Linked DNA regions of Homo sapiens: regions 2, 3, 4, 5, 6 and 7 are each linked to region 1. The links are contacts of gene promoters, found by promoter capture Hi-C in blood cells and fetal thymus (Javierre and others, 2016). All regions are on one chromosome and are shown on one strand. The core of a region is centred on a gene start or on the middle of the fragment in contact, and the rest is flanking DNA. Distances in the headings are between cores, read along the strand shown. Region 1 holds the start of CUL2 (cullin 2). Region 2 has its middle 17 kb from the start of GJD4. Region 3 overlaps CCNY (cyclin Y). Region 4 overlaps CCNY (cyclin Y). Region 5 overlaps PARD3 (par-3 family cell polarity regulator). Region 6 overlaps CCNY (cyclin Y). Region 7 overlaps PARD3 (par-3 family cell polarity regulator).

Evidence for each region. The method cuts DNA at HindIII sites, captures the fragments that hold promoters and counts their contacts. A CHiCAGO score of 5 or more calls a contact.
Region 2: a fragment that was not itself captured here is called in contact with the fragment with the promoter of CUL2 in region 1 in 8 of 17 cell types (activated CD4 T cells, neutrophils, monocytes and 5 more); the score reaches 9.7 in activated CD4 T cells.
Region 3: a fragment that was not itself captured here is called in contact with the fragment with the promoter of CUL2 in region 1 in 15 of 17 cell types (naive CD4 T cells, activated CD4 T cells, total CD8 T cells and 12 more); the score reaches 19.7 in naive CD4 T cells.
Region 4: a contact is called between a fragment that was not itself captured here and the fragment with the promoter of CUL2 in region 1, in 14 of 17 cell types (activated CD4 T cells, neutrophils, naive CD4 T cells and 11 more). The highest score is 21.5, in activated CD4 T cells.
Region 5: a fragment that was not itself captured here is called in contact with the fragment with the promoter of CUL2 in region 1 in 1 of 17 cell types (fetal thymus); the score reaches 5.4 in fetal thymus.
Region 6: a contact is called between a fragment that was not itself captured here and the fragment with the promoter of CUL2 in region 1, in 10 of 17 cell types (naive CD4 T cells, total CD8 T cells, naive CD8 T cells and 7 more). The highest score is 9.9, in naive CD4 T cells.
Region 7: a fragment that was not itself captured here is called in contact with the fragment with the promoter of CUL2 in region 1 in 5 of 17 cell types (fetal thymus, megakaryocytes, M2 macrophages and 2 more); the score reaches 12.7 in fetal thymus.

What each region holds. Positions count from the first base shown.
Region 1 is chr10:35,088,423-35,091,815 of GRCh38, forward strand. CUL2 (cullin 2) reads right to left here and starts at 1,919. Exons shown (of 21, transcript NM_003591.4): 1 at 1,757-1,919. RefSeq lists silencers at 1,690-1,819, 1,840-2,039, 2,093-2,281 and an enhancer at 2,200-2,339. The HindIII fragment of the contact is 6,346 bases long and covers 1-2,255 here.
Region 2 is chr10:35,586,758-35,590,150 of GRCh38, forward strand. No RefSeq gene overlaps it. Among named protein-coding and RNA genes, the nearest start is that of GJD4, 17 kb to the right of the region's middle. The HindIII fragment of the contact is 6,824 bases long and covers 1-3,393 here.
Region 3 is chr10:35,562,921-35,566,313 of GRCh38, forward strand. It overlaps CCNY (cyclin Y), which reads left to right. Exons shown (of 10, transcript NM_145012.6): 9 at 3,103-3,265. Among named protein-coding and RNA genes, the nearest start is that of GJD4, 41 kb to the right of the region's middle. RefSeq lists enhancers at 1,502-1,611, 1,672-1,781, 2,052-2,131. The HindIII fragment of the contact is 2,906 bases long and covers 352-3,257 here.
Region 4 is chr10:35,539,109-35,542,501 of GRCh38, forward strand. The region is part of intron 7 of CCNY (cyclin Y); the gene reads left to right. Among named protein-coding and RNA genes, the nearest start is that of GJD4, 65 kb to the right of the region's middle. The HindIII fragment of the contact is 992 bases long and covers 1,053-2,044 here.
Region 5 is chr10:34,645,429-34,648,821 of GRCh38, forward strand. All of the region lies in intron 2 of PARD3 (par-3 family cell polarity regulator), which reads right to left. Among named protein-coding and RNA genes, the nearest start is that of PARD3, 170 kb to the right of the region's middle. The HindIII fragment of the contact is 1,254 bases long and covers 905-2,158 here.
Region 6 is chr10:35,510,097-35,513,489 of GRCh38, forward strand. All of the region lies in intron 3 of CCNY (cyclin Y), which reads left to right. Among named protein-coding and RNA genes, the nearest start is that of GJD4, 94 kb to the right of the region's middle. The HindIII fragment of the contact is 1,769 bases long and covers 643-2,411 here.
Region 7 is chr10:34,661,727-34,665,119 of GRCh38, forward strand. All of the region lies in intron 2 of PARD3 (par-3 family cell polarity regulator), which reads right to left. It also overlaps the pseudogene RPL37P18. Among named protein-coding and RNA genes, the nearest start is that of PARD3, 150 kb to the right of the region's middle. The HindIII fragment of the contact is 6,127 bases long and covers 1-3,393 here.

The DNA of each region.
Region 1 (3,393 bases), core at 669-3,168:
GCTTGAACTGGGAGGTTGCAGTGAGCCCAGATCGTGCCACCGCACTTCAGCCTGGTGACAGAGCGAGACTCCGCCTCAAAAAAAAAAAAAAAAAAAAAAGAAATGTAATGTGTCTTGTTTACCCTTGTAACCTTAATGCCTGCAGCCCTGCTTGACAAATAAACCAGGTGCTTAATAAATATCTGTCAACTGCCAGACAACGCAAAAATGACTTTAAAGAAGGTCCATAACGTTTAATCTAGTGACAAACTGGTGAGGGTAAAAGACATGGATAATCTTCACATTTATAGAACACTGAAAGCCACCAGCAAGGATGGAGAATGAAGAGTATTTCAGATGCAGGAGAACATCCAAATACTCAAAAAGCAATTGAAAAGGAATTTTTCCCACGCTATGTGCATGCACATTGTAGAAATGTTCCCCCAACTCATAAACAGCAATTGAAAAAAACAAGTAATTCAAAACACTGTGGGCTGGGCGCAGTAGCTCAGGCCTGTAATCCCAGCACTTTGGGAGGCCTAAGCAGGCGAATCACCTGAGGTCAGGAGTTCAAGACCAGCCTGGCCAACATGGTGAAACCCCATCTCCACTAAAAATACAAAATTAGCCGGGCATGGTGGCGCATGCCAGTAATCCCAGCTACATGGAAGGCTAAGGCAGAAGAATTGCTTGAACCCGGGAGGCGGAGGTTGCAGTGAGCCGAGATCGCACCACTGCACTCCAGCCTGGGTGACAAGAGCAAAACTCCATCTCAAAACAAAAAAACTGTGTACTTCTCTTATCTCACGCGACTCTTTTGGAAGGATCTTCCAGATACTGTATAAGGGCAAAAGAAGCAAAGTATAGCTCATTTGTTCATGTGTCTGTCTTGAAAAGGAATGTAAGATTCTAAAGGGTAGGCAACAGTGTTTTGAATGTTTTTAAGCGATTATTATGTAGTCAGTTGTCAATCAGATCAAAGTGATTATTTCCGATACTTTACTACGAAGGTAGGCTTGGCCAGGTCTAGTTCAAAGACGTTTATGTTGAACAGTCACAATCTATAGCGAACGTTAATATTTTGCATCTTATCTTCAAAATTTAAACGCCCAGGGTACTGGCCTTCAACTGTTAATATTAATCCATGGGGCAAAGATGTGGACTTAACATTAATAACAGTCTGCAATTCACAGATGTTTTATTTGCATGCACGTAATGGTAGGGAATGGTCCAGACTCTCTAGAGGGTAAGCAAGTGCTAGAAAGCGTGTGAGGATCTTATTTCACCAGACCCTAAGGGTTGAGACAAGAAGTCTAGCATGCACGTAGGATACTCCTCCCCAAAGCTATCAATCTTTGCAGTCTGCGGAAACAAAAGTGAAAACACTCGGGGTAAGGATGCATGAGATGCCCCCCCCCACACACACACACAAACACACAGAGTTGTGTATTCGTGTGAGCACGTAAATATGTAGAAGAATACACGCACTCTCACCTTCCCTCCTTCGAAGGAAAATGGGGCCGCGGGAGAGGCGGCCAAGATCGGGTTGGGGAGGCCCGGGATCCAGTCCAGGGGGTGGCAGGGCTTACGGGTCAGCGCTCTGGGGAGCCGAGGTCACTTACAGGATACCATCTTCCCGGGCCTCCCCCTTTCATCCCTCTCCCCACACCTCGTCGCCCCCAACTCCTCTCCTCCGCCCCAGCCCCGCCACCCATTAACCGGGAAGGGAAGTTTCCCGGCGCCTGCAGCCCGGCTCCCCGACCCTCAGCGGGGTTACCTTCTGCAGAAGCAGGGCAAGGGGCAGGGGACAAGGGGAGGGGGAGGCAGCCCGAAGGAGTGAAAGACGAAGCCCCGGCGAGGAAGGTGGGCGGAGGCGGCGGCGGCGGCGGCTGTCAGCTCGCGTTCCCCTGCTCACAGCGCTGCCATTACTGTGCGCCGAGGCCGCCTCCCCGGCCGGCCGCCGCCACCGGCCCCGGAGACGCGGGGGGTGGGGAGCGAAGCCCGGGGAGCCCGCGCGCCGACACTCACCTGTCTCCGCGAGGAAAGACAGCAAAGTCCAAGGCCGCCGCCGCTCCCCGGCGGGACAGGGGCGGTAGGGAGGGGGGGAAAGGGGAGAAGGACGGGCCGATCACGGGATCCGTAAAACAATCGTCCTCCTCTGCCTCCGGCTTTGCCCAACACACACCCTCCGGTCTCCTTCTTCCGCTGCTGCCAAATCCCCCCCGCCACCCGGAAAGCAATGGTACAGGCCGCGTTACGGCAAGCGCAGGGAGCCAAGCTTCGTGTGATTGCGAAAGGCCACGGAAATTAATATTCCAAGTGATTCCTTGCTGGGCTTGCTGTCAATGAGGCAATTGCGGTTCGCTGAGCTGATGGACACAGTACCCACCCACTACCCGTTAGTTCAGGGACTGCTAATAACAATATGTTGGAATGGTGCTTTCAACAGAAGTATGTTTTCCTTGTTTCAGACCTATGTGAATATCCTAAGACACCACAATCCTCTTGCCACACACTTCCATGGGCTTTGCAAATGATCAAAAATAAATTAGCAAAACTACTTTTCCTCTCTGACAAACTCTTTTTCTTGTTAGTTTTTATCTACAGAGAATTTCTTGGACATACATGTATTTTCGATAAAGAAACTTCACATCTTTTTCACTAATACCCCACCTTCACCAAGCCCCAAGCCTATCAGTTTGAAGGGTTTTCCTCCCTTGGAGTTTTAAACGGTAAAGCTGATAAAAATATAGAATTACTCATCACCTCCTCATATATGCAGGGCCACAGAGGAACAAAAGCCCGGCCTTAGTGCTTTTTGCCTTTCATATCCTCAAGAGCTCACCATCAGGGTCTTGTTCATTTATACGATTCAGCAAGCTTTTCCCTCCCATCCCTTCCTTCCAAACTGCACGAACCCTTCAAGGCCCATTTAAAACCCTGCCTCCAGACCTGATCAGTCCCTAGAGCCTTCCTCCTCTTCTAATCTGCTTCTCTTGGTACTTGAAGTCTCTACTCTTTATTTCAGTAAAGGGTTTTTATATACGAAATTCAATCCAACAGTATGTTTCCATTATGTGACCTTTTTTTCCTCCCATGTTTTCCCCCTTTTAATCTAGTGATTCTCAAAGTGTGGTCCCCAGACCTCTGGAAATCCCTGAGACCTTTACAGAGGTCATAAGGTTAACAACTAGTTTGTTAACAATGCAATATGTCTGGTCCTTTTTTTTTTTGGATACAGAGTCTTGCTCTGTCACCCAGGCTGGAATGCAGTGGCGGCACAATCTCAGCTCACTGCAACCTGCACCTCCCGGGTTCAAGTGATTCTCCTGTCTCAGCTTCCCGAGTAGCTGGTATTACAGAAGCCCGCCACCACACCCGGCTAATTTTTTGTATTTTGTAGAGACAGGGTTT
Region 2 (3,393 bases), core at 274-2,773, 500 kb after region 1:
TGTGTGTGTGTGGTCAGCTCTGGGTTAAATGGAAAGACCACGGTCCTGGAAGAGGCAGCTCTGAGTCCAGATTCTTCTGTGATCTTGGGCAAATTCCCTCACTTTCTGCTAGGGCTACAAGAACAGAATACCTCAGAGACTGGGCGTCTTCTGCAGCAGAAACACCCTCTCACTGTCCTGGAGGCCAGAAAGCCGAGACAAAGGTGTGGGCACCGTTGGTCTCTCCCGAGGACTCTCTCCTTGGTTCGCAGATGGCGGCTTCCCCCGGTGCCTGTAGCATCTTCCCTGTGCACGCACCTCCCTGGTGTCTCTCTCTGGTCGTAATCTCTTCTTCTTAGGACACCAGTCAGATTGTATTAGGGCTCACCCTAATGGGCTCATTTTAGCTTCATTACCTCTTAAAAGACCCTGTCTCCAAATATAGGCACGTTCTGAGGTTCTGTGGGTTAGGACGTTAGCAGATGAATGTTGGGGGGACTTGTTCAGCCTACAGCACTTTTCTCAGCTTCATTTTTGCTCTTGATGTCTGAAGGAGTCAAGCCAGTGATTTCCGAAGTCCTCTCTGAATCAACCAGTTCTGTCTGGGAGTTCTGTCTGTCTCTCTCTCTCTCTCTCTCTCTCTCTCTCTCTCTCTCTCTCTCTCTCTCTCTCTCTCTGTCCTCTCTCCTGAGACTACAAATACTTAGGTGGCCGTGGCCATGTGGTTTTCTTTTTCTTTTCTTTTCTTTTTTTTTTTTTTGAGATGGAGTCTCACTCTGTTGCCCAGGCTGGAGTGCAGTGGCACGATGTAGGCTCACTGCAACCTCTACCTCCCAGGTTCAAGCAATTCTCCTGCCTTAGCCTCCCGAGTAGCTGCGATTACAGGTGCCCACCACCACACCCAGCTAATTTTTTGTATTTTTAGTAGAGATGGGGTTTCACCATGTTGGCCAAGGCTGGTCTTGAACTCCTGACCTCAGGTGATCCACCTGCCTTGGCCTCCCAAAGGGCTGGGATTATAGGCTTGAGCCACTGCACCCAGCCAGCCATGTGGTTTTCTTTCTGCATGTACCTCTCCATCTGAAGAGAACACCCCTCCCTCTCCATCTCTGTCAGTTGCTGGTGTTGTCATAGCTAAGGTCATCTGAGCTGTCTCCCTCTCTAGGTTGCACTTTAGAGTGGCAGTCAGGGAACAGAAAGAAGGCAAGGCTCACATGAAGGAAGATGGGGCCCAGTACAATGTGGCCCGGCGTGCAGGGCTCCTTGAGGTCCCAGGACCATTCCTAGTTAGGGCTCCACCCAACAGCAGGCCCAGGCCCACCCTGGCTCTGGGCACATCCTCATTGTGAGTGTGTGGATCAGGACACACACCCCACCCCTCAGGTCTCGACTGGCTCCTGTATCTGCTACCAGCCCCAGAATCAGCGAGTGTTACCACATTTTTTTTTCCTAAGAGACAAGTTCTCCCTCTGTTGCCCAGATTGGAGTACAGTGGCATGGTCATAGCTCACTGCAGCCTTGAACCCCTGAGCTCAAGCAATCCTCCTGCCTCAGCCTCCTGAGTAGCTGGGACTACAGGCATGTACTACCACGCCTGGCTAACTTGTTTTTCTATTTTTTGTAGAGATGGAGGTCTTGCTATGTTGCCCAGGCTGGTCTTGAACTCTGGGCTCAAGCAATCCTCCTGCTTCAGCCTCCCAAGTTGCTGTTAACTCCTTCTGAGCTGCCCCCCCTTACACTAAGGAAAATGGTGGATGGAGCTGTAAGTGCAGGAACAGAAAATGACCTCCTGTGGGGGCTGAAAGGAATTCTTGCCCGAAACCATCCTTTTCTCCTCTCAGCTCCAAAGAGAAGAAGCATATCTGTGTAGTTACTGTCAGAAGCTCATGCATATCCTGTCCTTGCTCCCTTAAATAATGGCTCCCAATGGCCATATTGAAAGTGCTGTACTCTGAGAGAACTTTGGATATCTTCAGCTCCTGGTTTGCCTCAGTATCCAATTTAACAGAAAAGAGAGAGAAACAGAAAGCAACTGCTTTTAGAGTTTGGTTGTTCCTGAGAAATGGTAGAAATGCCCTGCAATTTCCATCCTGTTTCAGTTCATTGCTAAGGCTTTCATTGAATAAGAGCTTAAAAAACAACAACAACAAACTGAGCCAAAACCAAAATGACATAAACAAAGGCACAGTTAATTTCAACCCATCTGTCTTTTGTCAGAAAAAGACCTTCTGTTTTTGATCACTCTGGCAACAGCATGGGTTTTGTTTTTTAACAGCTAAGTAAGAAGTTAGAAATAGAAGGAAGAACTCCACACCTGTTGCTTTTAGGGTCAATTATTTATTGATGTCATAAACTGCACAGAGGAAGGCATTTTGCTGCAGAAGCTAATGGAGCTACAGTGCAGTAGCTGTATCAATCAGCTCAGCTCAAGTATTTTATTTTTGTTGTTGTTGCTGTTTTTTGTTTTTGTTTTTGTTTGTTTGTTGTTTAAGACAGAGTCTTGCTCTGTCACCCAGGCTGGAATGCAATGGCATGATCATGGCTCACTGTAGCCTCGACCTCCTGGGCTCAAGTGATCCTCCCACCTCAGCCTCCTGAGTAGCTGAGATGACAAGCATGCACCACCACACTGGCTAATTTCTTTTTATTTGTATTTTTTGTAGAGGTGGAGCTTTGCCATGTTGCACAGGCTGCTGTCAAACTCCTGGGCTCAAGTGATCCTCCAGTCTCAGCCTCCCTAAGTGTTGGGATTGCAGGTGTGAGCCACTGCACCCGGCCCAGCTTTAGAAACAGGCTCAACTCTTTGGACTCTCCAGCACTCTATACCTACTTTCATTCCAGTGCCAAAATTCACTGCTTCCTTTGAGAACTTTATATTTGTTTCAGTTGTTAAGTTAAAATATTTTCACAATCATAGGAGGCCATCAAGTTTTGATTTGCAATCTGAAGGGAAGAGAGGGGATTCTTCATAAAGAAATGGACAGTATGTTACCCTCATTACAGAAGACATGGTGAGGGGTTTTATTCTCTGTGCCTCATGACGTCTCTCACAGAGACAGGGGTGTAATGCCTGCATTGTGAGAGGAATTTCAGGCATGGGGGAGAATTAGGTGTTGAATTACCAAGATGTTTCCTCACCTGTAAAGGCTGAGAGCCCCAAGTTTATAGTTTATTTATTGAAAAATAGAAGGCAGGCTGGCTGTGATGGCTCACGCCTGTAATCCCAGCACTTTGGGAGGCTGAGGCAGGAGGATTTCTTGAGCCCAGGAGTTTGAGACCAGCCTGGGCAACATAGCAAGACCCCATTTCGACACAAATTTTAAAAATTAGCCAGGCATGGTGGCACGTGCCTATGGTCCCAGCTACTCAGGAGGCTGAGGCAAGTGGATTGCTTGAGCCCAAGAGATTGGGTCT
Region 3 (3,393 bases), core at 555-3,054, 470 kb after region 1:
CAAATTGGGTTTTTATACAGTGTTGATCTAGTGTGACAAATATTTCTGAAATGTGGTTTTTGTTGGTCGACTTGAATATATTTCTTACAACGTTTTACACCAAAACTGTTTCTTCATAGTTATCTAAATGCAGATAGTAAATCCATCAGGCCCATTCTTGGCATCACGTTAGTTTTCTGATAATTTATCACATAGCAAGCTGTCAGTGTCCCTGTAAAAGATGTGCTGCTGCAGTTTGGAAATTCAAGTTTTGGAAATTATTTTTATTTTCTAAATCTTTAGAAAAAAATTCATTTTTTGAAAATACAACAGCTCTAAAATCTATTTTCCCAAAGCTTAACCAGAAACTCAAGCTTGGAGAAGGTTGTTCTGTTTTCCAGGGAACCCTGGGAAAATACCGCCTTGTTCAAAAGCAGCTTCCTCTTGACTTTGCTCGTAGTGTCTGCCTCCATCTGGAACCATGGTGTCTGTATATCATTTTGGGCAGGATTATCAGGCTGTTCTCTTAGACTTTTCTTCTTACTATTGGGAGAATACGCTTTGCAGTGACGCCTGTTGACCACCAGACGGCGGTGTGTCCATGGCAGCTCCCAGGTTCACTTGGGATTTGCTCCTTTGACGTTTGACAGTTCTGGCCTTAGCAGGGCCTCTGACGCTTTCGTTTTGTTGAAGTCTTACCTGGATTCCAGTATTTCACAGGATGATCTCTTATTAAATCTCATTTAAATGAAGCATAAATAAAAGTTGTTTTAAGTAAAAATTATCCCAAATCAAAGTAAATTATTATTTATTTATTTATTTTTGGGACAGAGTTTCGCTCTCGTTGCCCAGGCTGGAGTGCAGTGGGGCAATCTCGGCTCACTGCAACTTCCGCCTCCTGGGTTCAAGTGATTCTCCTGCCTCACCCTCCTGAGTAGCTGGGATATTAGAGGTGCCCACCACCATGCCTGACTAATTTTTTTTTTTTTTTTTTGAGACAGAGTTTCGCTCTTGTAGTCCAGGCTGGAGTGCAATGGCGCAATCTTGGCTCGCTTCAACCTCCACCTCCCGGGTTCAAGTGATTCCCCTGCCTCAGCCTCCTGAGTAGCTTGAATTATAGGCATGTGCCACCATGCCCGGCTAATTTTCTTTGTATTTTTAGTAGAGACGAGGTTTCACCCTGTTGGCCAGGCTGGTCTCAAACTCCTAAACTCAGGTGATCCACCCGCCTCAGCCTCCCAAAGTGCTGAGATTACAGGTGTGAGTGACCACACCCAGCCTAAATTCTTAAAACTATGAAATTTAGTACAGTAAATACATTTGGAGCTTGTTATCACTCTTTTCACGAGGCTGTGTGGAAACAAGCAGTGACGCTCTTCATCTGATGAAGAGACCGGAATGGGCCTTCCTCGGGCCTCCTTCCTTGCCGCCTGCCCACAGGTCCCAGTGCTCCTTTCCCCAGCAGCTTCATGTCTCCCCAGAGCCACTGGCCTTGCTCAGCCCCAGCCTCCCCACCCGCCTCCTTACTGTTCTTGTCCTTTGTCACAGCAACTTGAGCTGGTGTGGAGCCCTCCTCAGTCCTTCATAGCTGAGTGCTATGAGTCACCGGGAACAGCCATAGGGGTCTCGGGACATCACTCAGGACAGGATGGTGCCTGCATGTGAGGCTCAGACCCAGACCCTCAGCGTTCAGCAGAGTTGGCAGGACATGACTTAGAATGCCGAGGCTGGGATCAGGGTCAGGAGGGTGAGGCCCTGCACTAGGGCCCTGGCTTCACTCACAGGAAATGGTGACTGTGTGTTTTGGCTGCCTGCAGCAGGTTGGAGGGGACCCACTCTGCCTGAAACACCCCCTCCTCAGCCCTGGTTCCTCTCCGCCAGAGCTCCATGCTTCCCTCACCTCAGTTCAGCTCTCACTGCTGTGGGAAGCCTTCTGAGATCATGTGCTGGGGGCCAGGCATGCAAAAGCAGATGTTGCACTTCCTGACTATGAGGAGAACAGCCCAAGAGGCTGAGTTCAGCAGCCACATGCTGCATAGTGTGGGCAAGGACAGGAGGTTTCCTGGAGGGTGTGCAGTGGGTGGGCACCCTGTGGGTGGGCACCCCTGGGGGCTTCCTGGGGAGAACGTGCTGAATCTGAGTGCATGACCCAGGACCAGTGCTCCACAGATAGTTCCCTCACTGAGAAGGTTCCCCCCACCCAGAGGAACTATCTAGAAATAAACCTAATTTGAAAGATAGCTGACATGAGAAGTTCTTAAAGTAGAAGTTTTTGAATTTCTCCCAGCATTCCATCAACATGTAGATGGGTTGGCAGGGTGGATCTTAGCACCTCCTCTCCCAACCTACCTTTTTAGTTGAGTGGTTCTCAGAGTGTGGGCCCGGGGCAAGAGCCTCAGCCTCACCATCATCTGGGAGTTCCTTAGAAATGCACATTCTCAGGCCCCACTGCAGACCTACTGATCCCCACAGTGTGAAGGTGGAGCCCCCTGTCTGTTCTAACAAGCCCACCAGGTGATGGGGTGCGTGCTCAAGTGTGGAAACTACTGCTTCCATTCTTCCCGGCTTGTGAGTTCTCTTTTTAAGAGACTGAGGCAGAGACTGGACACCCTCCCCCCATAATCCCTGCCTTTTGCCTAAGAAAGCCCCTACACAGTTCCTCCCTTCTTTTCTCCCTGGAGGTAGGGAGGGGCCACCGAGGAAGCCAATGTCCTCTAGGTCTGCAGAGGCTGAGTGTTTTCCTCTGGGCCCCTGCGGAAGGGCCCTCACTGGACTCCACGTGGCAGCTCTTGGCTGCTGCATCCACCCTTTGTTAGCAGCCTGTCCTCACGGAGACCTGCAGCCAGAGCCTGCTGTGTGTGTGTTAGATCTCAGTGAAGTGATTCGCCCTGAAACGCTTCCTGGTGATGATCCCAGTTAACCAGTCCTCATCCTTCTGGGCACCAGATCAAGTGGATTTGGCTTTTAATCCCAATATGGTGGTCTAACCAGACATTTACTTAGATCACTGGTCTTCCTGGAGGATGCAGTTTTCTGGAGTCTGGTCTCCAGCAACTTGCCTTGGCAGGCCACGTGGCCTGGTGTGGCAGCTAAGCATAGGCTATTTTTGTCTTTGCTTTGCAGGAACGAGCTAGAGCGACAGTTTCTTGAATTGCTGCAGTTCAACATCAATGTTCCTTCCAGTGTCTATGCCAAGTATTATTTTGATCTTCGTTCTCTGGCAGAAGCGAACAACCTGAGCTTTCCCTTGGAGCCCCTGAGCAGGGAGAGGGCTCACAAGCTTGAGGTAAGATGGTTTAAAACAGCGTTTTGTGGTGCAGTGTTGCCAATACATCATCTGAGTACCAGAGATGCATGTGGTCACATTGATCATTTCCCCCACTACATGATGTAAAATAAAGATGAGCTACTAGG
Region 4 (3,393 bases), core at 299-2,798, 450 kb after region 1:
ATTTATCTATATGTATTTCCTTATATCAGTACTACACTATCTTGATTACCATAGATTTGAAGTTGAAATTGGAAAGTATGAGTCTCCAGCTTTTTCTCTGTCAGTGTTGTTTTGGCCATGCCATCCATGATCCTTGCATTTCCCTATGAACATTAGAATTAGCTTGTCAATTTCTGTCAGCACCCACCACCTCAAAAATTTTGGGATTTTAGTAGGAATTGCATTGACTATGTAGATCAGTTTGGGAAGTATTGCAGTCTTAGCAATATTAAGCATTCAAATCTCTTCTAACATGGAATATCTTTCTATTTATTTAGATTTTCTTTCATTTTGTCAACGTTTTTCTATAGTTTTCAGTATACAAATCTGACACTTCTTTTGTTAAATTTATTCCTAGGGGCAGGGTGCAGTGGCTCACGCCTGTAATCCCAGCAGTTTGGGAGGCTGAGGAGGGTGGGTCACGAGGTCAAGAGATCGAGACCATCCTGGCCAATATGGTGAAACCCCATCTCTACTAAAAACACAAAAATTAGCTGGGTGTGGTGACATGCATCTGTAGTCCCAGCTACTCGGGAGGCTGAGGCAGGAGAATCGCTTGAACCCGGGAGGCAGAGGTTGCAGTGAGCCAAGATTGCGCCACTGCACTCCAGCCTGGTGACAGAGTGAGACTTTGTCTCAAATAAAAAAGAAAAGGAAATTTATTCCTAAGTATTTAACTCTTTTGCATGCTGTTATAAATTGAATTGTTTTCTTAATTTCATTTTTGGTGGTTTATTGCTAGACTATAGAAATACAATTTATTTTTATAGATTGATCTTGTACCCTGCCACATTGCTGAATTCATTTATTCTAATAATTTTTTCAGTAGATTCTTTAGAATGTTACATGGGAAGATCACCTGCAAATAGAGATAGTTTTACTTCTTCCTTTTCATTATGGATGCCTTTTATTTGGTTTTCTTGCCTAGTTGCCACAGTTAGTACCTCTAGTAAAGTGTTGAATAGAAGTATCACGAGTGCACATCCTTGTCTTGTTATTGATATTAGGTGTGAAGCTTTCCATTCTTCTCCATTAAATGTTCTGTGTGCTGTGTGCTGTGAGTTTTTTGTAGATGTCCTTTATCAATTGAGGAAGTTTCCTTGTATTCTTAATTTGTGTAGTGTTTTTATTTTGAAAGGGTATTAGATTCTGTTAAATGCTTTTCTGCATCTATTGTGATTGATCATGTAGTTTTTGTCTTTTGTTCTATTAATATGTTAAATCAACCCCGCATTCCGGGATAATTCCCAGTTGGTCACAGTGTATAATTCTTTTTATATGTCGCTGGACTCAGTTTGCTAGTCTTTTGTTGATAATTACATCCATATTTGTAAGGAATTTGGTCTTGTGATAGCTTTGGTTTTGGTATCAGGGTAATAGTAGCCTCATAGAACAAATTGAGAAATATTCCTTCTACTTTTTTTTTTTTGAAGAGTTTGTGGAAGGTTGGTATTCTCATTTAAATGTTTGGTAGAATTTATCACTGAAGCCATGTTGGTCAGGGTTTTTCTCTGTTGGAAGTTTCTACATTACTAATCAGTCTCTTCGCTTGTTTCTTATAGGTCTATTCAGGTTATCTCTTCTTGAGTCAGTTGCAGTAGTTTGTGTTTTTCTAGGAATTTGTGCATTTCATCAGCATTACCCAATTTGTTGTCATGCAGTTGTTCCACAGTATTCCTTTATGATTCTTTTTATTTCTGTAAAGTCTATAATGTCCTCTGTTTTGTTTCTGATTTTACTTATTTGAGCCATCTCTCTTTTTCTTGGTTGGTCTACCTTCAGGTTTTTGAATTTTGTTGTTTTTTCCAAGGAATCGACTTTCAGTTTCATTGATTTTCTCTCGTTTTAGTATTTCTATTTCATTTCTTTCCACTTTAATGTCGATTACTTCCTTCCTTCTACTTACTTTGGTTTCAGTTTGCTCTTCTAGTTGCTTAATGTGGAAAGTTAGGTTATTGATTTGAGATTTTTTTTTAATACAGGCATCTACAGTTATGAATTTCTAAGCTTTAGTTGCATTGCATAAATTTTGCTGGGTTATACTTTCATTTCCATAGATGTATTTTTTAATAAACTTTTGTTTTAAATTAGTTTTAGATTTACATAAAAATTGTGAAGAAAGCAGAGTTCCTATAAATCCCACATCCAGTTTATTTTTAACATCTATAATATTATAAAATTATATAATGTACATAATTTAGTATCTTAGTGTGAGCTGTTTGTTACACTTAATGAACTGATACTGGTTATTATTATTCTATTATTTTTGCGACGGATCTCATTCTGTTGCCCTGGCTAGAGTGCATTGGCACCATTCATGGCTCTCTGCAGTCTCAAACTCCTGTGCTCAAGTGATCCTGTCCCTGCAGCCTCCTGAGTAACTGGAACTACAGCTGTGCACCTTCATACTTGCTTAATTTTTAAAAATATTTTGTAGAGACTGGGTCTTGCTGTGTTGCCCAGGCCGGCTTTGAACTCCTGTCGTCAAGTGACTCTTCCTCCTCGGCCTCCCAGAGTGCTAGGATTACAGGTGTGAGCCACCATACCTGCCCATATATTATTATTAACTGAAGTTCATTTTTACTCCAGTTTACTTAGTTTTTACCCAGCATCCCTTTTCTTCTTTAGGATCCCATCCAAGACACCATCTTGTATCTAGTTGTCATTACCCAGCATCCCTTTTCTTCTTTAGGATCCCATCCAGGACACCATGTTGTATCTAGTTGTCATTATCCAGCATCCCTTTTCTTCTTTAGGATCCCATCCAGGACACCATATTGTGTCTAGTTGTCGTTACCCAGCATCCCTTTTTTTCTTTAGGATCCCATCCAGGACACCATATTGTATCTAGTGGTCATTACCCAGCATCCCTTTTCTTCTTTAGGATCCCATCCAGGACACCATATTGTATCTAGTTGTTATTACCCAGCATCCCTTTTCTTCTTTAGGATCCCATCCAGGACACCATATTGTATCTAGTTGCCGTGTCTCCCTAGTCTCCTCTTGGCTGTGATAGTTTCTCAGGCTTTCCTTGTTTTTGATGATCTTGACAGTTTTGAGGAGTGCTGGCTAGTTTTTTTGTAGAATGTCCCTAACTTGGGATTTGTCTGACGTTTTTGTCATGATTAGACTGGGATTGTATGTTTTTTTGGAGGAAAATAACAAAGGTAAAGCACCATTTTTAGCACATCACATCAAAGGTACATTTGATCAACATGACTCATGACTATTGATGATAACCTTGATCCCTGGCTGAGGTTGTGTTTGTCAGGTTTCTCTGCTTTGTAGTCACTCTTTTTCTCCACTTTCTGTACTGTGTATCCTTCGAATGAGGTCACTCTGTGCAAACCACAC
Region 5 (3,393 bases), core at 282-2,781, 440 kb before region 1:
CTCCTGACGTCAAGTGATCCACCTGCCTCAGCCTCCCAAAGTGCTGGGATTACAGGTGTGATCCACTGTGCCTGGCCAAGACTACATATTTTAAATGAGCAAAATAAAGCCTCTACATTATGCTAAATTTACTTGTAACCCTGGATTATTTACCAAATTTTCCAAAACAGGTATCTCTTACCATCTGACCAGCAGACAGTATGGCTTAAAGAAAACAGCATGAAATAAACCAAGATACGCAGAATCTAGAAGTCGCTCTGCAGCTGCGGCTGGGAGCAACTAAGTATCTCTGCAGGTGCCTGTTCTCACTGGGATATTAAGAAACCAAGCGTTTTAAAAAGCAGACATGTGGACAAACGAAAGGTTATCAGCTGATGAGCAGATTTTTAGAGCAAATTATTAAAACGTGTTACTATATCTGACATGTTCTAATTCTTCCCCGTTTTATTTTTAGATACCATTTTACTACTAAGAGTAAAACTCCAAGCTAAAATCCAAAATGGAAAAGAAAATCTCTTTAACTGATTAGCTCTTGGGAGAATCACCAGGACAACACAGAACCGGGATAAGAGTATATGTTGTAGGAACTAGGCCAGAACCCCCAAAACATAGCGAGACGCAGGAACAGTCACAAAATAGCATTCTTCACAAAACAGGCAAGTTAGAAATAACTGAATATATGGTTATCATATGTAACCACTCACAGTCAAATAAATTGTTTTACCTAAATAAAAACCATCAATAACTCCTCATTTTTGTTTTTGGATTAGTATAGATGAATGACTACAATTAGCTAAGCATTTTTTTGTAATCGTGATTAAGTCCAGGTACATGAAAAACAAACTCAACTCCCTGATGAATAATTTAGAAAATAATATACTTTATTACTGAAATTTTGCCCTAAAGCTTTCTCTGCTGTCCAAATAATTTCCCAACTGCATTTCAAATTAAACTCCTAAGTTTTCACCTCTCTCCCCAGGGTGTTTTTCTGCATTACAACATATTTTAATATGTTTAAATGATAGCAATGCTATAAAGTGTTATTTCTCACTGCAAACAGATTAATATCACTTCATACCTCAGAGAGCATAATAGTAATAAGGTAATAAAACAAAGCAGGATCATCACCACTAATAACCTGAGAGGGAAGTCCTGCTAAGACTTCATCTCTATCACGGAATATTCTTGGTCATTACTTAGATGGGAGCGTTTCCCACATCACATCTCTAATTCAGTAATTGCTTTTCGTGTGCGTGAGACAAGGTCTCGTTCTGTCGCCCAGGCTGGAGTGCAATAGCACAATCATAGCTCACTGCAGCCACCACTTCCCTGCCCCAAGTGATTCTCCTTAGTGATTCTACCTTAGCCTCCCAAGCAGCTGGGACCCACAGGTATATGCCACCACCTTCAGCTACGATTTTTTATTATCATTATTTTTTTGCAGGCTGACAGGGTCTCCCTATATTGCCCAGGCTTGCATGCACTTTTATATAATTACTGTCTTCCTCCCCAAATTTCCATATACCTCTGATGGTCTCATAACATGTTTGACATCAGAACCATACAACTCCCACTTGGGTATTTATTTTTTGGAAGTGTGAACATATTTGCTTTTATTTCAGCAAAGAGCTTTATTAACTACTCATTCATTCTGACTGCTATAGTATGCTTTAAAGAAGGCTTTTTATACCTGGAACTTCAGGATGTCTGTAGTTAACCAGAATCACGTTTTGAAGATCCATCCATTATTCATCCCTTCCTGTGAATAACCTCACAATGTTCATTATTTATTATAAACAACAAGTCATAAGCTGGAGTCTAAGCCCATGAGGACAGGGGCTTTGTCTCCATTCACTACTGCATCCCAGCATCTGGAAGAGCACACCGCACACAGTAGTATGTACTCACTGAAGGGAGGAGCGGATGAGTTAAACAGGGAAGGTCACTTCAAAGTGTCCGTTTTGCACGGGTTTCGCAAAGCCAGCAGTCCTACTGATAAGACTCCACAAATTTAAAGTTGTTCTGTATTCTAACACATAAATAGTACCAGGGCAGTAACAACGAAAACGTTAAGGACTTTTCAAGCCCACAGAAAATACAAAAAATCTGTCACAGTTTATATTCCAAAAAGTTCTTTTTTTCTAGTTTTTCTCTTTTAAGCTTTGCTGGGCTTTAGACTGCACCTTTTCTCGATGCAGTCAATGCACCACACTTAACGTGTAGCTCTTTTTTTCCATTATCATAACTTAAATTGCACTTCTAATTATCTTTTAGCTAAAATGCAAGCAAACATAAAGCTTCCCTTTCTATCTTCTCATCCATATTTGTAGTTGCTAAGGCCTATTTGAGAGAAATCGTAGGGTAGGTCAGTTTTTGCAAATATTCAACCAAGAAATGATAAATATATTTGGAAGCCTAGCTTTGTATTGTTTGAAGCTAGCAGCTGGAGTAGGGATATTTAAGTGCTGCTTCCTGGGCCCAAATTAAAACCTCAGAGAATGGGATCAAAGAGGAGGGTGCAGTGAGACCCCTGACATTTCATTATTCTTCTCTGTACATGTAGATATGTGCCAATTCTAGACAGGAGTCCAACATACAAATAATATCTGAAGTACTCAGGAATCTGTTTATAAATAGAAATATCTACTTCATCCCGGGATCGCCATGCGGCCTGCACATGAGTCTGAGGACTGCATTTGATTTATACAAACAGACTCAAACCTCGTCTTAAAATGCATATGTGAACCCCAGATGCAAACCTATAAAGCCCAGTTGAACTGCAGAGCAACTGTAATAAATGCAATAATGTTAAGTCAGCTTCAAAGACATTCTTCAAAGAAACTCCAAAAACTTTCATGAATGTTTTATAGTTATTTTTAATATTGATGTATTTCATCTTAAAACCAATGCCAAGAGCTGCCGTGAATGGCTCATCTTTTCATGCTGGTGTGCTGCTTGGAGTCTCTCAGAAGACCAAAAATTACTTCACAATACTGCAAGATCTAAACCAGTGGCCCCCAACTTTTTTTTGGCAACAAGGACCAGTTTCATGTAAGACAATTTTTCCACAAATGGGGGCTTGGGAGGATGGTTTCAGGATGAAACCATCTGGCCTCCGCCTCAGATCATCAGGCATTAGTTAGATTCTCAAAAGGGGCGTGCAACCTAGATCCCTCACACACAGTTCCGCTAACACCGATGCTGACCTGACAGGCGGCGGAGCTCAGTCAGTAATGCTCCCTCCCCTGCTGCTCACCTCCTGCTGTGCAGCCTGGCTCCTAATGGGCCATGGACCAGTACCACACAGTGGTCTGCGGGTTGGGGACCCCTGATATAAACAATACTACACAATGTGAAAATCTATGTCCTTGTATGTGACATTTTTAAGGAAGC
Region 6 (3,393 bases), core at 277-2,776, 420 kb after region 1:
TTGCCCTCCTTAAGATTAAAAAAAATTGTGGAGCTTTCATATTTAGAGATTTCATTTATATCACTTCTTTTCACAAACTTTTACTCCTTCTTTTCCTCTAATAATAATACTTCATTTTATTTATTTATTTATTTGTGAGACAAGGTTTCACTCTGTCACTCAGGGTGGAGTGTAGTGGCACAATCATGGCTCACAGCAGTCTTGACTTCCTGGGCCCAACCGATCTTCCTGCCTCAGCCTCCTGGGTAGCTGGCACCACAGGCATGCATCACCACACCTGGCTAATTTATTTCTATTTTTTGTAGAGATGAGGTCTTGCTGTATGGCTCAGGTTGGTCTCGAACTCCTGGGCTCAATTGATTCTCCCACTTGGGCTTCCCAAAGTGCTGGAATTATAGGCATGAGCTACCATGCCTGGGCCTTACATTATTTAATGCTTTTTTTTGATCCTAACAAACCTTTCTAAGAAGTAGTAAGACAGTCATTGAAAATGGGAAGTTAAAGCCTAGAGACTCTTAAGTGTTAAATGACTTAATATTTATTCAGTTCATGTACGTGCTAGGCACTTTACAGGTGTTATTCTTCACAGCACCACAATGAAGGACAGGTTCTGTATCTGAATTTTATTGATGAAGACATTGAAGCTTGGGGAGGCTAAGCCTAAGGTGATAGGCTTATACATTTTAATTAATTACGAAAGGGGTTACTATTATTGGTTATTCTAGGACAACAGGGACAAACTACGGCTGTCCTGATCAAGCCAGGATGTGTGATTGTCCTCTGTAAGTAACTTGCCCACATTTACACAACTCGTCAGTGGCAGAGCTGCAGCCAAGCACTGGGCTTTCTGACTCCACTGTGCTCCTGCCCTGCCTGTCTGGAGTGTCTCGTCCACATGAACTTGGCTCCTTGATCTGCCTGCCATGCCTCACTTCATGTGTTCGGAACGTGTCAGCATTTCACTGCCCAATGGTGCAGGCCCCTGCGGCCAGCTCATTGCCACACAGCATGCCCCTTTCTGCCGTAACACAGCTGCTGTGGCCACACTGTGGTCTCCCTCACAGAGGATCCTGTGCCATAATGGAGGCAGACGACTTCCCACAGTTGGGGGCAGTGAGCACTCTAGTCCCGGGATGGAGCTGTTCTTCATTTGCTGATTCAAGAAAATACCAGTCTGTACCTCCAAGACACCTGCAGTCTAGACCCCGGAGACATATAGAAAAGTGAGCCAGAAATGACAATGGAGAGTGACTGGTGCTGTGGAGGGTGAACACGGGCATAGAACACACAGAGGGGTACCCAGCCCAGGTGGTCTGGTGGTAGGAAGGCATCTAGAGGAAGCACTGTCAGCAGAGTGCTGAAGGATGAGTGGAGTCAGGGAGGGGAAAAGGTCTGTAGGGTATTGTACAAGAAGGTTTAGGAATGAACAGCTCAAGGGAAGGGCTGCAGAACCCCAGAGAGGGAGGCACGGACTTGGTAGTCAGACAAACATGGCTTTAAGCTCTGGTGTCTTAGATTTGGTGTTGGAAATGCTACTTCATTTCTCTGATCTCCTTGTCTGTAAAATGGGAATTCTACCCTGCAGTGCAGGGCTCTGAATGTTTGTGAGCTCTAAGTGAATACACGTAAAGTAACCCAGAACACTGTGGGTTCATCTTTGATGGCCATTAAATAAAAGTGGCCGTTGTTCCTTTCATCTTTGAATTATGTCCAAGTGTGGTGTGCAGGGAAAGAGGAAGTGAACCGTGAACCTGGAGAGATGGAGAGTTGACTCGTGTGTCTCTCCCCAGTGGAGAACGTCAGAACCATCTAGGCAGGGAGGCAACACGATCTGATTTGCTTTGTATTAAGGTGACAGTAGCACTTGAAGAAGAATGGTTTAGAGAGGAGTGAGCCTCGAGGCAAGGTGGTTACTGTAGTGATACAGGTGAGAGTCCACGTGGCTTTCATATACCAGATAGTGGCTAGAGGGGTGCAAGGGAAAGGATGATGTGGAAATGTACTTGGAATAGAATCGATAGCACTTGATACAAGGAAACCAACAGAAAGGAAAACAAAATTCAAGAATATTTTGTGGATTTCTGGTTTTAAGCCATTACAGTTGATTAGAGGAACAAATTAGTTTGGCATTTGAGGTACCCATGAGGAACATTGAGATGGAGGGGTCAACCAGGCAAGTAGTGAGCTCAGAAGAGAAGTTGGGGCCAGAAAGGAGAGATTTGGGACCCAACAGAGGGGAGAAGGAAGTTGAATTAATGAGAGTGGGTGAGAGTCCCCTGGGAAAGTGTTTAGAGGAAGAAGAAAAGACCATTACATTTGAGGAAATTCAGAGAAGCAGAGTCCACAAAGGGACTGCGACTGAGTAGCCAGAAAGATGGGGGAAAGCAAGGAGGAAACCCCAGAAAGAAAAAAGCTTCAGTTCAAATATCAAATTGGTAGGAGGACTGCAGAGGACCCATCTGCATAGCGGACTTAGAGTTTTTTGTGAATGGGGAGGGAGTGTGGAGGTTGAGCGAATTCAGAAAGACATTTTGAAGAAGCCGAGGGACTAATTAGTTCTGGCCTGAAGAGAGTTAGGGCTTCTACTCCAGGTAGGGGGAGGGATGACCGATTTGCCAAGAAAGAGGCAAGAAGGTTGAGGGGACGCTGTCTGGTGGCCTCTGGGTTCTGTGACTCAAACTCCCTGTGGGGAGCTCAGCATGGTGATGGGTGGAGGATTTGAGGAGGTGTCGCGGGTGGGAGCAGTTGAAATAGTTGGGAGGAAGATTTGGGGTCATTGTGGAAGGTCCAGTGGAAGTCTTATCCCTGCTTCCTCCTCCTCATCATCCTGCGCTTTGATCGTATGTTTGTGTGTGCATGTACATGTGTGTATCCATGTATCTTTGTATCTGACAGACATCAGTATTGGAATTATCTAAGGGGATAATCTCATTATTTGGGACACATGATAACTCTTCAATAAAATCTTCTTAAATATATCATTCAACAATTTTTGTATATTAATGGACCTTGATGTAAATCATATTTTGTACTATAGACATTGTGTGAATACATGGACTAAATGACCTTGCTTCAGTCTAGCTCTAAAATTCGATTATTCTGCATATTCATAGCTTAATCTGTAAGGTTCACATTATTTCAAAGATATAAATTTTATTTCTTTAGAATAATTCATAATTGGGCTTCTCACTCATCAGGCTCCCCTTCTAAGCAGTTCGTGGTTAACTCTGTAGTATCTGCGCTCTCACCAAGACACTTACTGTATTTGGGACAATCTTTCTAAATTGTTTATAGGGTGATGCCCATCCTTTGCAAGTAAAACATTGCCTTAGACATTTCCTTTTATGGTTTTCCAAAATGTTGCAGGCATTAGGCATAAAGAACATCCCTGTT
Region 7 (3,393 bases), core at 392-2,891, 430 kb before region 1:
AGAATCACAAAGATCAGAATTGTTATCAAATGTTGGGCAAAACAGCTGTCAAAGGAGGGACCGCCCAGACAGTAAATGAGATAAGAGGCTCTGACTTTGAGACAAGCCCTTCAGTGTGGAAGGTGGGGCATTTTATCCAATCAATGTTAGATAAAGGTTCCCAATCATGGAGTAGTGCAGCAGTCCAAGAAAGAGGCAGATTTCTACCTTGAAAGCCCCACTGGAAAGAAGGTCCTGCAGCCAGATCCTGCATGTAAGCACCCTGGGGAGATGGTTAAATTCTGCTCCTTTGACCTGCAGGCCTAACCGTGAAGGCTACTACTGGGCAGGGAGCTACTTAAGACAACTGCTCGGCTGACATCTCGGAGTGCCTAAAATGAACTTCTGGCCCTTTCATCAGTATTCCTCATTCTCAAAATGTTCCCTTTCCCCAACATCACCCATCATCAGAAAAATGCAAATCAAAACTACAATGAGATATCATCTCACCACAGTTAAAATGGCTTTTACCCAAAAGACAGGTAATAACAAAGGCTGGCAAGGATGTGGAGAAAAAGAAAACCTCATACACTGTTGGTAGGAATGTAAATTAGTACAACCACAATAGAAAACCATTTGGAGGTTCCTTAAAAACTAAAAATAGAGCTATCACATGATCCAGCAATCACACTGCTGGGTATATAACCTAAAGAAAGGAAATCAGTACATCAAAGAGGTATCTGCACTCCTATGTTCATTGCAGCACTATTCACAATAGCCAAGATTTGGAAGCAAACTAAGTTTCCATCAACAGATGAATGAATAAAGAAAATCTGGTACATACACACAATGGAGTACTATTCAGCCATAAAAAAGAATGAGATCAGCCAGGTGCGATGGCTCGCACCTGTAATCCCAGCACTTTGGGAGGCAGAGGTGAGAGGATCACTTGAACCAGGAGTTTGAGACCAGCCTGGCCAACATGGTGAAACCCCATCTCTACTAAAAATACAAAAATTAGCCCAGCGTGGTATTAGATGCCTGTAATTCCAGCTACTCGGGAGGCTGGGGCAAGAGAATCCCTTGAACCTGGGAGACCAATGTTGCAGTGAGGTGAGATAGTGCCACTGCACTCCAGCCTGGGTGACAGTGAGAAACTGTCTCAGAAAAAAAAAAAAAAAGAATCAAACTGAAGATCATCATCTTAAGTGAAACAAGCCAGGCACAGAAAGACAAACATTGCATGTTCTCACTCATTTGTGGGAGCTAAAAATTAAAACAACTGAAATCATGGAAATAGAGAGTAGATGATGGTTACCAGAGGCTGGGAAGGGTGTGGGGCTGGGAGCAGGGGAGTGGAGTTAATGAGTACAAAAATACAGTTAGAAAGAATGAATAAGAACTAATATTTCCTAGCAGAGCAGGGTGACTATAGGCAACAATAATTTCATTGTACATTTAAAATAACTAAAAGAGGCCAGGTGCAGAGGCTCATGCCTGTAATCCTAGCACTTTGGGAGGGCCAGGGCGGGTAGATTGCCTGAGCTCAGGAGTTCAAGACCAGCCCGGGCAACATGGCAAAGCCCCATCTCTACTAAAAATACAAAAAAAATAGCCAGGCGTAGTAGTGCATGCCTGTAATCTTAGCTACTCGGGAGGCTGAGGCAGGAGAATTGCTTGAACTCGGGAGGCGGAGATTGCAGTGAGAGGAGATCGCACCATTGCACTCCAGCCTGGGCAACAGAGCTTTGTAACACGAAGGATAAATGCTTGGGGTAGATATCCCACTTAATCTCATGTGGTTATTAGTCATCACATGCCTGTACCGAAATATTTCTTATGCCCCATAAATATACACACCTAATACGTATCCACAAAAATAAAAAATTTTTAAAAAAAGTTCCTTCTCTACTTCCAAGCATCTGATTTTAGACGAAGATGGAGCTGACAGGCCCACTGAACACAGTGGGGTGGCACCCTGTTTATGCTTCAGAGGTTCCAGAAGTGTCAAACATTTTAAAGAAGCTGTGTCATTCTTCTATTCATCCACAAAACTTTTCATTTCCCCCTCAGTTTTTGTTATTCCCAAAGAATTCTTTAAAAGAAAAAAAAAAACAGAACATGTATTCCATGACCAATCACTGAAATTCTGAAGATGAGGTGCAGTAGCTGGCCCTTGGGTCTGGGTGCTGTCCTTCACGGAGCCCAGGCCTGAATCTGTAGTGTACAATGTTTAGGCGCCTCATTCAACCAGCCCTGGTGTTGCTTCGTCTTTTCGCCTTGGCACTCCAGTTCTGCCTTCTCTTGGCTTAGCAGGTTGGGGCCTCAGGGCCGCAGCAGCACAGGGAGTGTGTCCAGCTGCGATGTTTCCCTAAGGATGACACTCCCTTCCTCATCTCGCTTCTGCCGCCGAGACCAAAGAGACCAGAGGTGGGAGTTCTTTTTAATATATTTGGTTATGTCACTGTCTGAATCAATAGCAAAGGCAATCGAAAACCTTTTTCTTTTTTCTTTTGAGACAGAGTCTCGAACTGTTGCCCAGGCTGGAGTGCAGTAGCGTGATCTCGGCTCACTGCAACCTCCACCTCCCAGGTTCAAGCGATTCTCCTGCCTCAGCCTACCAAGTAGCTGGGATTACAGGTGTGCACCCCCAGGCCCGGCTCATTTTTGTATTTTTAGTAGAGGTGGGGTTTCACCATGTTGGTCAGGCTGGTCTCAAAATCCTGACCTTGTGATCCGCCCACCTCAGCCTCCCAAAGTGCTGGGATTATAGGCGTAAGCCACTGCACCTGGCCTTTTTTGAGAAGGTGTCTCCCTGTGTTGCCCGGGCTGGAGTGCGGTGGTATCTCAGCTCACAGCAGCCTCTGCCTCCCGGGTTCCAGAGATTCTCCTGCCTCAGCCTCCTGGGTAGCTGGGATTACAGGCATGTGCCACCACACCCAGCTAATTTTTGTATTTTTAGTAGAGACAGGGTTTCACCATGTTGGCCAGGCTGGTCTCGAACTCCTGACCTTAGGTAATCTGCCCACTTTGGCCTCCCAAAGTGCTGAGATTACAGACCTGAGCCACCATGCCTGGCCCAGAAACCTTTTTCTTAGTCAAATTAGCAATTGCTACAGTCTGTCACTTCAGACAAGGCTGTGAAGAGGTGTGTGCCGGACAGGTCTTAGCATGTAGAATGTTGAATCCCCTTCTCTGATTCACTTCTCTTCTATGATGGCTTACAGAGAATTTGTAGACAGTACAGAACTGCTTCCTGGTGTGCATGTGTGTGGTGTGTGTGAAGAGAGAGGGAGAGACAGAGACAGGGAGGGAAAGAGAGGGGGAGAGGGAGGGGGATCCTACTGAATAGAGGCAATATAAGTAAAACCACAATTACAAAGTTTTTTTTAAAATAAAAAAAATCTGCCTAAC